Regions from separate parts of the Homo sapiens genome. Here region 2 is linked to region 1. Evidence: promoter capture Hi-C in human tissues and cell types (Jung and others, 2019). All regions are on one chromosome and are shown on one strand. Each heading gives the region's core, a stretch centred on a gene start or on the middle of the fragment in contact. The rest is flanking DNA. Distances are from core to core; before and after follow the strand shown. Region 1 holds the start of LGI1 (leucine rich glioma inactivated 1). Region 2 overlaps LGI1 (leucine rich glioma inactivated 1).

Region 1 (7,858 bases), core at 3,323-5,822:
ATAGAAAAAGGTAGCAATTGCTTTAAAGGTAAAGGAGGCCATGGATATTTTTTCCTGGACAGATCATATTTTGAAGGACTAAATGATAAAGCCTTAGTAAGGATGGACTTATTCCTTCTTTTGTTCATGCCTTTTGCTTTTCCATTTGTTTTTAGTTTTTAATTTCTTATGGATCAGGTATTTATGTGTTGATTGTGGATTAATTTTTAAAATAACGCTATTCCCCTCCTTTGACCCTGAAAGATCAATTCTGTCTTTCAAACAAGACCACATCCAATTGGAATACTAAGAAATTTTTTCTGGTCATGTCGGATTCTTACGTGCAGTGTTTTTGTTTTGTGTTGTTTTATTTGAGCATGATACTAAAACTACCCTGGAAATCACTCCCTGAAAATAGAACACTCTCGGGAATTACAGGGGTTTATAATTAAAATATGTTATAAGTGGGTGGCGAAGTGGCCACATTTTGTCCTCTTAAATTTGAATTTCACTTCCATCATGAGCCCATATCATTGGGGACTTCAGTCTGTAGTTGAGAAGGAACAGGGCTGTAATGTGTGAAAACACATTTCCCTAAACTGCATTCACTAAAAGTACCACTTTCTATCACTAAAAGCAAGCTAGAACGCATAATCGTTGTCATTGGTTATGTTTCGAAACTGGCCCTATGTAAAACATGAATGAAATTGCATTTGCTTGGGAAAGGTTTTTATTGTTATGTTTAAACCCATAAATGAGATTTTTAAAAAATGTATATTACAACTAATCTAATGAATTTTTATTGAATAATTTTATTCTTTCTCTCTCTTCTCTACGGAATGTGGGTTTTTGTTTTTCTTGTTCTCCAACACAAACTGCCAGCCATGGCCTACCAGGATCTTTTCCCAAACACTGCATGTAACTTCAGATACCATGTCTATTTTCCTCAGTACCCCAGACTGACATTTCAACAAGTACTTCTCATCATAGCTTTTTCAGAAGCTCTGAAAAAGCATCTGGGGGCATACTGACATTATCAGATTTTTAGGGTGGATGATGGAAATAGGACATTTGCTTTAACCCTTCCCAACAATAAAGCAAGAAACCAACGAACTGTCTTCCTACGTCAATCAAGCCGAATTGATTCTGAAATTTATCTCTTCACAGTGTATGATGGGTGAGTGTGGCAATTCACAATCACAAATGCTGTTGGAATTCATTGCAAACCTCAATGGCTTGTGTGATCTAGGCCTAATCTGGTGGTCCAATGCCATTGGTCTTCATGTTCCAAAGGGGGATTGGCAGCCCATATGGGGTTTTCAGGGCACTGGACAGCCCTGTCTCACAGAAGAGATCTTTCTCTGTGGGATCCATGCATTCCCACAATTGTTATGATCGTTTCATAGTTCATATTCAGAGCCTTCTCATATATTTCCTACACACCGCACATGAGTTTATTAGACCTTTTCCTGAGGATAGGCGGAAGCAGAGAATATTGGGCAAGAAGGATGGAGAGCAGAGTCTTCAGGCACAGGGTCCTGGAGATTAGGGACAAACTTTGGCCCCTGACAATTTTGCATAAGTTCAGCTCTGGCACAAGTCTACCATGTTGAGGTTAGCCAATCTGAGTTAACCGAGAACACACTGGGAGAGAATTACTCGCCTTTTGTTATTTCTGAAACCTGAACTGCTTTTAGAAATAAAGGCTGGAATGTTCCATAGGAACTCGGAGCATGGGGCACGGGCATGGCACACACTCGGTTGGGCTATTTAAAAACCAGTCCCTTGGCTTCCCTCTGTGATTCTAAATACGTGAAATCACATTACCCTGCAGCAGCCGGTAACTATTTCTATAACATTGTCCAGCATCTGTGCTTGCCGTGACTGGGTCCACCCAACAAAAACAAAGTGGAGATGTGGTAATTGATTAGGTTAATCACTCCAGGCTTTCTGTGCCACAGCTAATGTCCATCTAGTGTCTACTGACACTACTCCTGGAATTTTAAGGACTGATCTATGTAACTAGATCTATGTAACTTCCTAGGGGAAGGGAGGTGCCTTAGCATATCAAAAGGATGCTTTTTAAAAGAGCTATTTATTCATTTAACAAGTGAGGACCAGAAACACAATTTATCACTTTCTCAGAGACAGCAAATTCTTATCCTATGGAAGGATCCCAGCATTAGAGACTCTGCCCCTTTCTGTGGGAAAGAATCTATCTTTTTTGGATTTGTTTGATGTGCTAACTAACACTTCCCCCAGTCACACCACTAGCCATCAATCAAACAGATAAACCCCTTAGGAATATCTAGTCAATTGCTAATCATTTGAAGACATCAGCCAGTAGAAGGGCATTAGCCAACATCATTACATAATGTCAAAACAACTGATCAAGTTTGTGAATCCAATGAAACAGTCAAACCAGTTTAGGAATTTCATATACACAAAACAATAGATGAGTGACTTTTAGCTTTTTAGCTTGATATAAAATTTTTAAACCCTACCATTTATAAATGTGTAAGCATTTGGCACACCCTATGCCAAGTGTTTTATCTACTTAAACCTTGGAAGTATGTGTTCTCACTTCCATTTTAAAGATAAGAAGACTGAGGCTTAGTGAGATATACTAATCTGCACAAGACTACATGTTTAGGTTCTATGAGTGGCAGGGTGAGGTTTAAACACTTGTCTCTCCAACGTCCACTCCATGCTGTTTGCCTCTGTGTATGTAACTTCAAACAGCCAAAATGGCCAAGTAAGGCAAGAAAATAAAAAAATAAAAAACAAACAAGTGAAAGGCCTGGGTCCTGAATCATGCAGTTAAGATAGCCAAGACTCAGCTGATCCACAATTGTCTAATTCTGCCCATATCCGTCCAGCTACAAACCAAGTCTGCGACCTGATACCTGAGTCCTGGGAGACCTCTTGACCCCCATGTGATACCGCTGTAAGGACTAGGACTCCAATTGCCAAACATTACACATCAGAACAAATTTTATGTGTTCCATTATGCCTGTGAACAGATCTGATTTCTTAGTCAAATATTATTTTTTTGAATATTTTCAGGCATAGACTGAGTATGTGGTTCCCTTGTGGCCAACTCAAAACATATAGCAGAGAGTAATCCTTTGCACTATCCTATATTAATATTTTCTTTCCCTCCTTGTAATGGAACTAGTTATAAATTAGATGAGATTAAAAAACAGTCTCTTGAGAATTAACATTTTAAGGAATTACCTAGAAAGAGCTGAGGTGTTTTTTTTCCCCACATGGTAAATCATACAGAGTAGCAGCCTGCCCCAGATCCCCGGAGACAACATCTTGAGCGCATATGTTATGCTGGGTTCTGTATTGACTAATTCAAAAACTCCAGGGCAAAAGAACCCAAGTTCCCAAGTTAAAAATGAAAGTAAAATAGTGGAATGGAATTGGGATCATTGTTGCAAGATTCCAACAACTTCATAAATAGCCATTAAAGTAGACAGCATGACAGGTTAACAGATTTACCATTGTAAGAATCAACCTGCACTGTTGGTGTGAAGTCGCAAACAAACCCATCTACCTCTCACTTTACGGATATTCTGTTTTCTCAGAAATAGAATCACATTTGACAAAATTAATATTGAGATCATTTTACTAGAAGGCTTATCCAAATATATGCCATATTAAAAATAGTCATGATATAAATATTTCTCACAAGAGCTGCAGCGATGGCGTGAATAAAAAACTCCCTTCTGAGATTTCAGTAAAACCAGATCTCACAAAGGATCTGAAAGAAAACAAAAAAGAGAAAACAAACAAACAGACACACACAAAGAGACACACACACACAGAACAAACCTTATGTTAATCCGGTTTAGCATAACAGTGACTATTTTGACACTATTTTATGAAGTACGATACTATTCCTTCCCAGATGAAGTAAGAGAAATGAATCGGCTACAGGTTTCTCATGATAATGTTCAGGGCTGGGGGTATCTAAGCATGTTCAGTAGCAGCTAAAAAAATCAAAAATTCTAAATGCAGCAAATGTTAGCACTGTCAAATGGCCAAGCATGCAAGAGGAATCTCTCTCTCCATGCCCTTCTACAAATACATGCAAAGCCCCAAATCCACCGGCTGGAATTTTTAAATCGTAAATTAGATATCAAAATGCTTACGGGCCTTACAATGAGATAACATCAGGAGGAACGGTGCGTGGAATGGATCTGGCATTCTCACATAAAGCATTATCTTTGGTACAAGTACACACGGCAGGGCATTTTGGCTTCGCTGGTTTCTTCCCCTCAGTCAGCAAAAGCGCAGATAAGAGACATAGGAAATAAGCAATTCTTTTCAGGGGAATGCAGGCATTTCCCATCCTTTTGCTTCTTTCTGATTCCATGCAGTCGAGAAAATATCCCCAACCATGAACAGGGCTTCTGGAATTCAGATGGTGATTGTCTTGCTCTAAGAACAGGTCACATAGGAGTCCACCCTTTTCCTCTGCCTCTGTATCTCTGCTTTTTCAAAACAGAGACCTGCAGCTGATTCGTGAGCTTCTCCTCGCTCCAGCAATGCACTGCTCGGGGGAAGAGACCTGTGAGGTACTGTGAGATGGGAGGGATCCAACTGCTGGAGGAGAGAGCCGACTTGCATCACCACGAAAACACTGAGCACAGACCAGCCTTCGAAGGCAAAGTGAAGTGATGTCACAGAAAATAAACAGCTTTCTGCTTTCACCGGGAGGCCCTTTAATTGTTACCAAAAATAGGACGGCATTATGTCTTATTAGTGAGTGGGTGGGCGGGTGGGTGGGAGCAGTCATCTTGCATAGGATGTCGGCAATCTCAGAAACCTCTGGGAGTCTGCTTTTCATGTAGCAAACAACCTAGTAAGAAAAACTAGCTTTGGAGCCAGCCCCGGCTGGAAAAAATGAAGCTAAATGAAACTCTCTCCACAATATTGGGCTAAAACCTTTTGATGTTTCTTGCTGAGCCTACCTGGCTAATGCCATCAGTGAAAGACAAATCAGAACAGATGAAGAATGTGACTTTCAGGGGATGAATGTGAGTACATACTTTTCTGACACTTATTAACTGTCATGAATGATTGATTTTCCTATCCCCCTGGGTCCCCCACGTAATTCATTCTCTCCTTCCATGACAAGGAAGGGAAACAGAAGTGCGGGACCCTCTCTGTGTATAATCCACCTCCCTCTCTTCTCCCACCCTCCCTTCTTTGGCAGTAGCACCAGAAGCCTGGAAGGAACTCCCTGCCAGCAGGAGGCGGCCAGCTCTAGCTTCCTGGGGCTTTGAAAAAGGCCTGGCTCAGCCCCGAGGCTGTGACATGGTGGGGGAAATGCTGGACTGAGAACCAGACACCTGGCTTTGAGAACGCAGGTCTGCTGTGAACTTGCTGAATCTATTCTCCTGTCTGTAAAACGGGGATGATAGTAAAGACATTCTGGAATTAAATGAAAATGATAGGCTATGTTACTCGTGTACTTGATGTGAGCGGATGGGCCCTTGGAAAAGAAAATTCATTTAAAGAAGCAATCAAGAGCCCCTGGCCTTGGGGTGGGATAGTTTAGTCCAAGAGAGTAGGAAGACCCTTGGGATGGAGGAAGATGAGGAAAACAGACCCCCGGTTATCTCACTATGGCGAAGGCGGCCATCCTTCAAGCTGGCACGAACAGCCTGGGATATCAGTCCACGTTCCTTTCTCCTCTAGCTTCTTAGACTGAAAGTATTAAAAGGACTGCTTGAGCAAAGGCGATTTTGACATAACCTCATTCTGCATCAGAGCTGAAAGCATTGCCATTCTACCCTTTCGCTCATGTAGCTGGCCCCATGCTAACTTCAATCCCTTGTTCAGTTCTCTGTAAACTCTTTGCGGGGGACAGTGCCATTCACGTGCATTCTCACATTTGATAACTGTCTGTTTACCCCAGAAGATTGCAAGGTCCACGAGGTTAGAGACCCCGCTAGGGAACCCAGGGCCTGTGTAGCATTGTGCATGTAGTGGGCAACCTGGATGGCTATGCCAGCAACAGCAGAGTGTACAGTCCATTCATGGTCATGCCCAGCCAAATAAACTTACAGTTGCACCTTGCAGTTCTAATAAAGAGATCTAACCTAGTCAAGGAAGTCAGGGGCCAATTCCCTGAAGTAGCAGTGATTGAGCTGAGTTCAGAGGTAAGGAGGAGTTACAGAGAGGGTTCGTGAGAACACTCCAGGTAGAGGGAACGGCATACATAAAGTCTGGCTCATGATCTGCAGAGCAATGGGACACCTCTGTAGAATCAGGCAGGGGAGTGATATTAACTGGTTTGTGTTTCAAAAGGACCAGTAGGTTATTATCACTAAGTCAGTTTTTGTGGGGTTGTAAATACTGTGTGTTGTTTTTTACGGAAGGGAAAAAGAAAAACTCTTCGTTGACAAGAAGTCATGATTTTAAAGTGTATTCTACGAATGCTTCACTGTCAAGGACTCTGTGGAGGAGGGAATGGAGGGCAGTGTTTTTAGAAACTGTGACCTCTGCGCAAGCCTCACTTTAAACAGTAAAAGTGTCACTTAAAAGTTGGCTGCAAGTCGGGTTTTTGTAAATTGAACCCTGCTTCAAGTGCCTAGTGGAAACTTGCTCCGTAAAATAATTATGTGGTAAAAGTTTTATGGAGGATTGTTTTTATTCAAAGTCACCCTCTAAATCAACTGACTTGTAAATGATGTGTTCTGTAACTACAAAATGAAGACATCGAGAAGATTCAGGGACCTCAAAGATCCTGGATTCGATCCCTGCATATTACAGATGGAGAAACCGAGGTACAGAGAGGACACACAGAGACCACCACTCTGCATGGGGTAAGCCCCATGGCAGAAACTTGGTTACAATGACTAATGTAATCCATCAGGCTAAGTCACTCCCTGTGTTTCACTTTCAAATGTTTCAAATCATGAAGATTGCTTGACTAGCTGTTGGCTTTGTGGTATGAAGACACAGCCGAAGAAAGGGTGAGCGGTCTTTTTCTTTTGACTTGGTAAAGCTAGGAAGGCAAATGAATGAGGGGAAGAAATCATATCCATACTATTCACTTTGCAGCTGTATTTATCTGGCAGTTCAGTTTGTCAGTTCAAGGGGGAAAAGGACCATTGGGGAGGGGAGGGGAGGAGAAACTCTAAGGACAAATTACAATGGGCATTCTGAAAAGACAGTAACTTTTTATTTTTCTATGGCATTTAAAACCCAGACTTGAATTCTTTATTCAATTAAAAACACCCACTAAGGTCAGACAAAATTTAACCATGTAATGCAGGATGCTGGCGGCCTTTTTGGGAGGAGAAACCACTTCCTGGCTCCAGAATTGGATCTGAGGAGAGACTCGGGGAGATGAGGGCAGTTCGCTGCATTGAAGTCTTGAGAGGCCTGAAGAGGAGGCCCCATTGCTGATAATGCTTCCCATCTTACTGCTCCAGGAAGCCCCAGGGAGCACAGAGATGATGTAGGAAGCAGGAGGTGGAAGCTTAGGGGTTTCCACCATCTTGGAGGCCTTCAGATAAGGTGTGGCCACCCACTTGTGGATCACAATAGGGACCCTGGGGAGAGGGGCTTGGAAAGGATTAAAGCAGAGTTGGAAGGAGGCCCAGGGAAGCCAGGAGGCCTAGCTGAGGCAGGCTCAATGCCCAGTCTGAGCTGTAGAGGAGTAGCTGAGCTCTGCACTTTGCCAGCCATATGACCATGGGCCGATTTACCCTTCCTAAGTCACAATTTTCTCCTCTGTAAAACGAGGATAATAATAGTATGTATCACATAGAGTTGTTGAGAAAATGAAACATGATAATGTATCTAAAAGTGCTTATTGTGCAGTCTGATACGTGTGAAAGATTTAGTATCATCTTCA
Region 2 (7,858 bases), core at 2,575-5,074, 35 kb before region 1:
AGATCTTAGATAACCAAAGGCTAGCGTTGTGGTCTGGGTAGCCCATGGCTCTACTGTAATTGTTTTGCTCTAAGTCTGAACTGCTTCCTGCTCTAGAATAATTTGCCTTTCCCCTGCAAAGAAAGGAGATGCCACTTGTCACTTTTCTGGAGCTTTAGGTCACTGGTGGCAGGAGTGAAGAGAAGGAAAAGGAATCTTTAAAAAAATCGAAAGAAGGGTGCAGCCATGGGCACTGCTCCTGAAAGTTATTTTGGAAAATCACAGAAAATGATGTGGGATCTGTCAGTGGCCTAGCTTGGTATCCTTTGGGGAAGAGTTTGACATTTATCAGTAGATTCTGATCTTGCAGGAGTTTGGCTCTAGAAAATCCAGAGACAGCTGAACAAATCTGGGCTTTAGGCCTCTTCTGACTACAGCGCTAGTGCGGGGCAGAAAGTTCTACATTAATTCTTTCTACTAATTGGCTTCATCCATAGGCAAAATAGTTTTATTTCTGACTCTTTTCAGGGCTAAACTGATTGTATGATCTTAAGAAAATCATTTAACTTCTCTGAGGCTCAGTTTTCTTTTCTGTACAATGAGACTTTAGACTAGATTAAGGATGGCCACCAGATTCCAACACATGTACCAATACTGATTGGCTCATTGCGTGTGATTGTCTGGGGAACTGTGTTGAGAAGGATTCTGTGGCCGTGTCTGCACTCTACATGAAAGATTCCCATGATAGATTAGTGGTGCCTGTCTAGAGTGAAGGAAGGGATAATGACTGAGTATGGGGCATATATTTGTCATCTGCTATGGTTGGAATGTTTCTGTCCCTCCAAAATTTATGTTGTAGCTTAATCCCCAGTGTAATAGTATTAAGAAGTGGGGTGTCTAGGAGGTGATTAGATCATGAGGACTCCACACTCATGAATGGAATTTGTGCCCTTGCAAAAGGGCTTGAGCGAGTCTGTTAGATCTTTTTTTGCCCTTCTGCCATGTTAGGACACAGAGAAGGCACCGTCTTTGAAGCAGAGAGTGAGCCCTCACCAGACCCTAAATCTCCTGGTGCCTTGATCATGGAGTTCCCAGCCTCCAGAACTATGAGAAATAAATTTCTGTTCTTATAAATTACGCAGTCAAGGTATTTTTTGTTACAGCAGCAGGAAGGGACTAAGACATCATCCTAGACAAGATGAGCTCTGAGATGCCCTCAGAAAGTTTGCAGATGTATGATTTATTTCTCTTGTAAGTGCTCATCTAAAGAGTCATTCAAAGAAATTGATGAACCATACACAAGTAAGAAAAGCCTGGTTTCGACCGCACAAAACCCTGCTATAGTCCACTGGAAAACTTATGGGGGCCTAAGGAAGCATGACCTTCTTCCTTCAGAGAGGAGGATTCTAAAAGAAAGGAGGATTCCAAAAGGGTCTCAGTTTGGAAGGGATCCCTTTATTTAAGCAACCCCAGCCTCAAGCAAGCCCCAGACCTGTCTTGGTCCTTTGAGCAATGAGGGTGATGGCTACCAGCAAAATCTATCATGACCCTCCATGCCTTGTCTAAAGGGTTACCTTTTATGGGGAGGTGTGAGTGCTCTTGAGAGCAGATTTAAAGGTATTAGAAGCTAAAACTGATATTAAAAATTGTAGAGGGAGCCCTATGTTCTAACTTATGACTTATAATTTTAAAAATTATTAAAATGGGAAAGAAACTTAAGAGATCAGCTAAGTAAGCCCAGGCAAGGTGGTTTACTCTTGTAATCCCAGAACTTTGGGAGGCCAAGGCGGGTGGATCACTTGAGGCCAGGAATTCGAAACCAGCCTGACCAACTTGGTGAAACCCCATCTCTACTAAAAATACAAAAAATTATTAGGGCGTGGTGGCACATGCCTGTAGTCCCAGCTACTTGGGAGGCTGAAGGACAAGAATCGCTTGAACCCAGGAGGCTGAGGTTGCATTGACCCCAGATCACGCCACTGCACTCCAGCCTGGGTAACAGAGCAAGACTCCATCTCAAAAAAAAAAAAAAAAAAAGAGAGATCCAGATAAGTAAAAGTTTTCATAGAAAGAATTAGATTCCGGCCGGGTGCGGTGGCTCACGCTTGTAATGGCAGCACTTTGAGAGGCCAAGGTGGGCGGATCATGAGGTCAGGAGTTCAATACCAGCTTTGCCAATATGGTGAAACCCTGTCTGTACTAAAAATACAAAAATTAGCTGGACATGGTGGCACGCACCTGTAGTCCCAGCTGCTTGGGAGGCTGAGGCAGAAGAATTGCTTGAACCCGGGAGTTGGAGGTTGCAGTGAGCTGAGATTGTGCCACTGCACTCCAGCCTGGGTGACAGAGCGAGACTCTGTCTCAAAAAAAAAAAAAAAAAGAAAAAAAAAGAAAAAAGAAAAGAAAAGAAAGAATTAAATTCCATGGCCAAATTAAGGGTGAAAAATATTGGAAAAATTTCCTCACTGCAGGACTTCTCAGATCCACAGATGTCTGTATTATGAACCTACAAGACCAAGATATGGTTCATGAATTTATTGGACCACAAAATCCTTTTCATTACAAGGCATACATTAACATTTTGTAGAAGACACGTTTGTGTAACAAATTTGAGACTTATTGATCTAAAATAACCTTCTTATTTTATAGTTAAGAAAAAGGGGTTGAGGGGTGTCAGTGAGTATGAGCAGCTTGCCCAAATAGACTGTGGCAGAACCTGGACTAGAACTCATGATTCACCATCCAATACTTTTATTTGAAGAAAAATAATCAAATATTTACTGTTTATGTATTATACTAGACCCTATGCTAAGTTTCTTGAATATGTGTTCACATGATCTTATTAACAACCTTGTGAGTTAAGTATTAATATTATTCCCGTTTTACAAGTGGGGAAATTATGGCTTAGAGAACAATCCCAGGTCACTTAACAAATGGTAGAGTTGGAATTCAAATGCTAAAGCATTCCCCTATACCACTCATCTTTCCTTGTTGCCCTTGGCTGAAGCAGTTTAAATTACCACTCAAAATATCATTAGGCTTTTCATACCTGTAATGTTGTCATAATTCCGGAAGGTCTTTTCCACATGGTCCCATTCAAGGAAAATGCATTTTCCAGTAAAAGGCTGAGCGATGACTACATACTCATCATTCAAATAAGAAAAAGTGTCTATGGACAATGATTGATAAGGCAGGTCTTGAGACTTTGCAAATTCTGCAAAAATAGGAAATAATAAGTAACTGTGAGCTAATACCTCTTTCCTTGGCTAGATCTTAAATATTCACAAGAAATACATTTATTTCAGAGAATAGTAAAATGGCCATTTTACTTTTAAACACATGAAGCATTGTCAATGGTTCATAATTTTTTTAAAATTAAGTTGCTCAGCTAGTTTTTAAGATATAAAAAATATCAGTTCCTGCACATGAAAAAAAAAGGTAGCCCTTATTTTAATTTTTTGAGGTGGAATGATGATGAGTACATTACCTGTAATGATGCAATCAAAATCCTTCGAGGAGAGACTATTGATTTTGCGCTTCTTGTATTCTGGGGGGCCTTCGCAGTAGATGTCTTCAACAGTTGCATTGGTGTGGCCAAGCCATTCCACTAGCCATTTCAGTTTACAGTCACAATTAAATGAATTACCCCTCAGGTCCCTGAAAGACAAACTTCAGCTGCTTTTGCTGTACAAGGGCCCTACCCACGCAGGAAAGAGTTCTACATCAACAATTAACATGTGCAGAATGACCTTACCCGGCGTTGCATCCTGCCCTATAACCTGCCTGGAACCTGACTGACCACTCATTCACTTTGGGCTCAGAGAGTTAGCACCATGCACACTTGAAGACTACCCAGTCAATGGAACCTCATCACTTACTCCCTCTTGAATTCCAAAGCGGCTTAGTCTAGGGCTGTGCTGTCAATAGAAACAGTATATGAACCGTAATTGTAATTTAAAATTTTCTATAGCCACATTAAAAAAGTAAAAAGAAGCAGGTATAATTCATTTTAATAATATGTTTTATTTAACCCAATACATACAAAAGATTATCATTTTGACACATCATCAATATAAACATTATTGAGATATTTTACATTCCTTTTTTATACTAAGTCTTTGAAGTCCAGTGTGTATTTTATACCTACAATATATCTCAATTCAGATGCTAAATTTTACCAGAAATAGGTGATCTATATTTAGATGTCATAAAATTCATAATTGAAAAAAATAGGTGTATATACCCAAATTATTCCAAGCGTACTTAACATTTTCCAATAATTGAGCTGAGAATCAGCTTTTAAATTTAAATTTAACTGTTAAAAAATTAAGTAAAATTTAAAATTCAGTCTCTCAGTTGTACTAGGAGCACATTTTAGGTGCTCAGTGACCATAAGGTCTGGTGGCTACCCTATTGGACAGCACAGGTCTAAAGGACAGAATGTAGTGATTATTGTAATGTATTTAATCAAGTGAGCTATTTGCTTTTCTTCTTCCTCACAGACATAATTAATCCTGATCCTCTTCCGTGGTCTACAAATTCAGTTTAAATAGGAAATGACTTTGACACAGCAGAGTTAACACAGGCATACAATCGCTCATGCCTGTAATAAGTTATACAGCATAGACCATTTACATATCCACATATGACCCCAACTCACCAAGTTCTCTGTGTATTTGCATTGCTTCTGTTCAGGAATTCCACCTCCTTTCCTGGTCACACAGAATTCTTAAGATAGGTGCTGCCTACTCTTCACACCACACATAAATAATTTTTAAACGCCCAAACATTTAAAAATGTTTTTTAGAGGATACTTTCAAGAAAGCCAAGAAATCCACTAAAAGGCAAGTTGGCATGGATCCTTGTACTTCTAAGATAATTCTTGATTTGGGCATATTAGAGTAGGTCCAAAAGGCTAAACCCATCTTGGGATTCCCATGAGAGACTGAGCCAATTTCAATATTTTTTTGTTTTGTCTTTCACTAGTGTAGGGTATAGACTGACACAAAAATGGGGTAAAGGACCCCCAATGAGCTACATCCCACGTCACCCATGGAGTGTGTTCTAACTTCCAAGACACTCCCAGAACTGACCTAGTCTCCCAAGAGAACTCTGACCCACACTAATGAGTGGCAACCTTTCAGGCTACTGTAAACCAGAGAGGATAACTATGGTCTGTCCAGGACTCTCTTGGAAGAATCCTGATTTGGGCATTCTCCTGGAATTAAACCATATCATTCAGGAATTGAGGTAATAGACATGGAGGAGGGGCTGGGGAAATACTGCAAGGAACAAAGAAAGTTTTTCATTAGGCTACTGATTTGAAGTTAAATACTGGGCTTGGAAGAAAGTACTTGACTCAGATTTTCTTTTTGTTTGTTATTGGAGAAAAGTTGTTTTGAATATATATTCTACAGACAAGTACCTGAATAATTTTTTAAAAAAGCTTTTGTTTTCATATATCCTTTCATTTGTTCCTGTCTTCCACCTTATGACATTTAAATACCTTTCTAATGTTCTGGAAGGCAAATAATGAAGCTGAATTGCTTTTGAGAAGTTTAGGCATATATTACTTGCTTTGCTTACAGCAAAATATACAAATTCCTTGCAAAGATCTTTCACTCGGAGGCTTAAAAGTCAAAGTTTGAAAGCTCTTTTGTTTGAAAAAGGGTCAAAAATAATTAAGTTCATTCCCTTCCTGGGGCTTAAGCCAAATTCCTGGGGATTAAGCTTAGAGTTGTTGTTCAGTCTAATGAGAAAAAAGGCAAACTTTTCTCCCTTCCCCCACTTCCTGTTCCATTTCTCTGTTGATTGACCAACCCAAGGATGTAACCTTTCATCTTTATTCTGTCAGTTTCCCAGACTCCTTTATGTTTTTCCTTTGTAGCCCTATTTCCTGGACCTCATGAGAAAAAAGGGATTTTGAAATTTCTAGCCGGGTCTCTTCCCACCCCGTCAAAGTCCTTTATCATCGCTCCCTGCCGTATTGACACACACTTTGTCAAAGGAATGCCTGGGTGCCATGTATTCAGAATTCCCAATGATAAATACCATAGAAGACTCAAATGTTAGTCCATGTAAATTTAAATTTTTGGCCAGTTAAAATTTAGATTTAAAAATCCTAATTTTAATTTAAAAGCCAATTAAAAATTATAATAATCAATACCAGGCTTCCTTGTTAATGACTGCAAATTAATTAATTGTTCAGTGATTTCTTAGGTCCTCTTACACATTTGTTAAAGAATCCAGGCCTTTGAAAATATCTTTTGGGAGTGTCTGGAGATTGTTGTTTGCAAGGCTCCTGGAAAAAAAAAAAAAAAGGTGATGTAAACTGTAGTGATAAATTAAACAAAGGCATTTAATGATAAAGCTTAGTGATGAGTCTCTTTTGTCATTTCCAGCCTACTAAAAGACTTGTGGTCCTTTTTTTTTCTTCTGAACTACTACTCAGATTCCTGCTATTGTCCTTTCAGTTCCTAACCTGTTCACTTCAACACCCACTCCATATTTATTTACTTTTATTTCTTGAGACAAAAGTCTCGCTCTGTCACCCAGGCTGGAGTGAAGTGGTGTGACCTCAGCTCACTGAAACCTCTGCCTCCCGGGTTCAAGTGATTTTCCTGCCTTAGCCTGCCGTAGCTGGGATTACATGTGCCCGCCACCATACCCGGCTAATTGTTGTATTTTTAGTAGAGACAGGGTTTCACCATGTTGGCCAGGCTGGTCTTGAACTCCTGAGCTTCAGTGATCCACCCGCCTCGGCCTCCCAAAGTGCTGGGATTACAGGTGCACTCAATATTTAAACAACACTTTATGTTGGTTAAAAACAACAATGATTCCTGGGCATTGATCTTTCCATTTAGAACAGAACACGAGAGATTCACACTCTCAGACGCTCAATCTAGGGGATATCTCCCAAATGATGACTAACCAAACTGGTGAGTGTCCATCTCCAAAATGCGCCCCCTCCTCTTGCCTGGGCTGCCCCTTCTGCCTGCTTCCTCCTCGCTTGCTCCGGAGAGCAACCAAACCTCCAACCCACAGTGCCAGTAGCTCTATCTCTTCCCCAGTACATCCTTTCTCCTTTCTAAAGCCCACGCCTCCTTTTCCTTTCTAGCACCATTCATTCCACCTCAGAAAAAAGTTTTCTTATAAAAACCTATCCATCTATTCTCTTTAATCATCCCCCTCTTTCTCCTTCTTCTGGTTCTTTTCCTGTGATCACAGGAATGTTTTTCCCTTTCCCTTTCTATTTGTTCTTCCGTAAATCACTAGAATGATTCTAATAAAGGTTAATGAGTAAAAAATTGTCCTGATAATGTCAAGGAAAGGGAAATGTGTCCCTAGTACACAAATATAGACATAGCACAGTGCTAATGCTGTATGACTGGGGAAGGTCACCAAGTAGTGTAATTTTCTATTTTTAACCAGCACCATATATATACACGTTATAAACTTTTCTTAGAGGTGTTTTTTTTTTCCACAATAAAAATAAAAAACTAAACTAAAACTAAAGAGCCCATACCATTAGCCTCTAAACCCTTGAAAATTCTCTCAACTTCCCTTTAAAACATTCTCAAAAGTCTATGTCTTCTACCTCCACTAATTAAATATAAGGTTTCTCAAGTGCAAACATTCATGAACTTTAGAACTTATTTTTAAGTTAGTTATGTTGTTTTTCTAGGTTTTAGAAATTACTGCTAGTTTGGAAAATGGTTCTCAATGAACCTTGGAATGCAAGAATAGGAACTGAGTCAGAATGTTCCATTGTCAATGACGGTCCAATTGTGACAAAGAGCATGGCTTTTGGAGTGATTCTGAGCTATGTTTGAATCCTGACTCCAGCATTTACTGGCTGTGTGACTTTGGTAATGTATCT

What was found. Contacts are between HindIII fragments. The study calls those that stand out against the background at their distance.
Region 2: a contact is called between a fragment that was not itself captured here and the fragment with the promoter of LGI1 in region 1, in 7 of the 25 tissues and cell types used here (bladder, heart left ventricle, heart right ventricle and 4 more).

Annotation. Positions count from the first base shown.
Region 1 is chr10:93,754,650-93,762,507 of GRCh38, reverse strand. It overlaps LGI1 (leucine rich glioma inactivated 1), which reads right to left and starts at 4,572. Exons shown (of 8, transcript NM_005097.4): 1 at 4,149-4,572; 2 at 3,677-3,748. The coding sequence starts at 4,363. LOC101927013 (a long non-coding RNA gene) reads left to right here and starts at 4,791. Exons shown (of 3, transcript XR_246160.5): 1 at 4,791-5,027. The HindIII fragment of the contact is 5,456 bases long and covers 2,668-7,858 here.
Region 2 is chr10:93,788,521-93,796,378 of GRCh38, reverse strand. It overlaps LGI1 (leucine rich glioma inactivated 1), which reads right to left. Exons shown (of 8, transcript NM_005097.4): 5 at 6,209-6,280; 6 at 3,467-3,636; 7 at 3,029-3,193. It overlaps LOC105378437 (a long non-coding RNA gene), which reads left to right and starts at 7,771. Exons shown (of 6, transcript XR_001747552.2): 1 at 7,771-7,847. RefSeq lists an enhancer at 5,496-6,054. The HindIII fragment of the contact is 7,903 bases long and covers 1-7,775 here.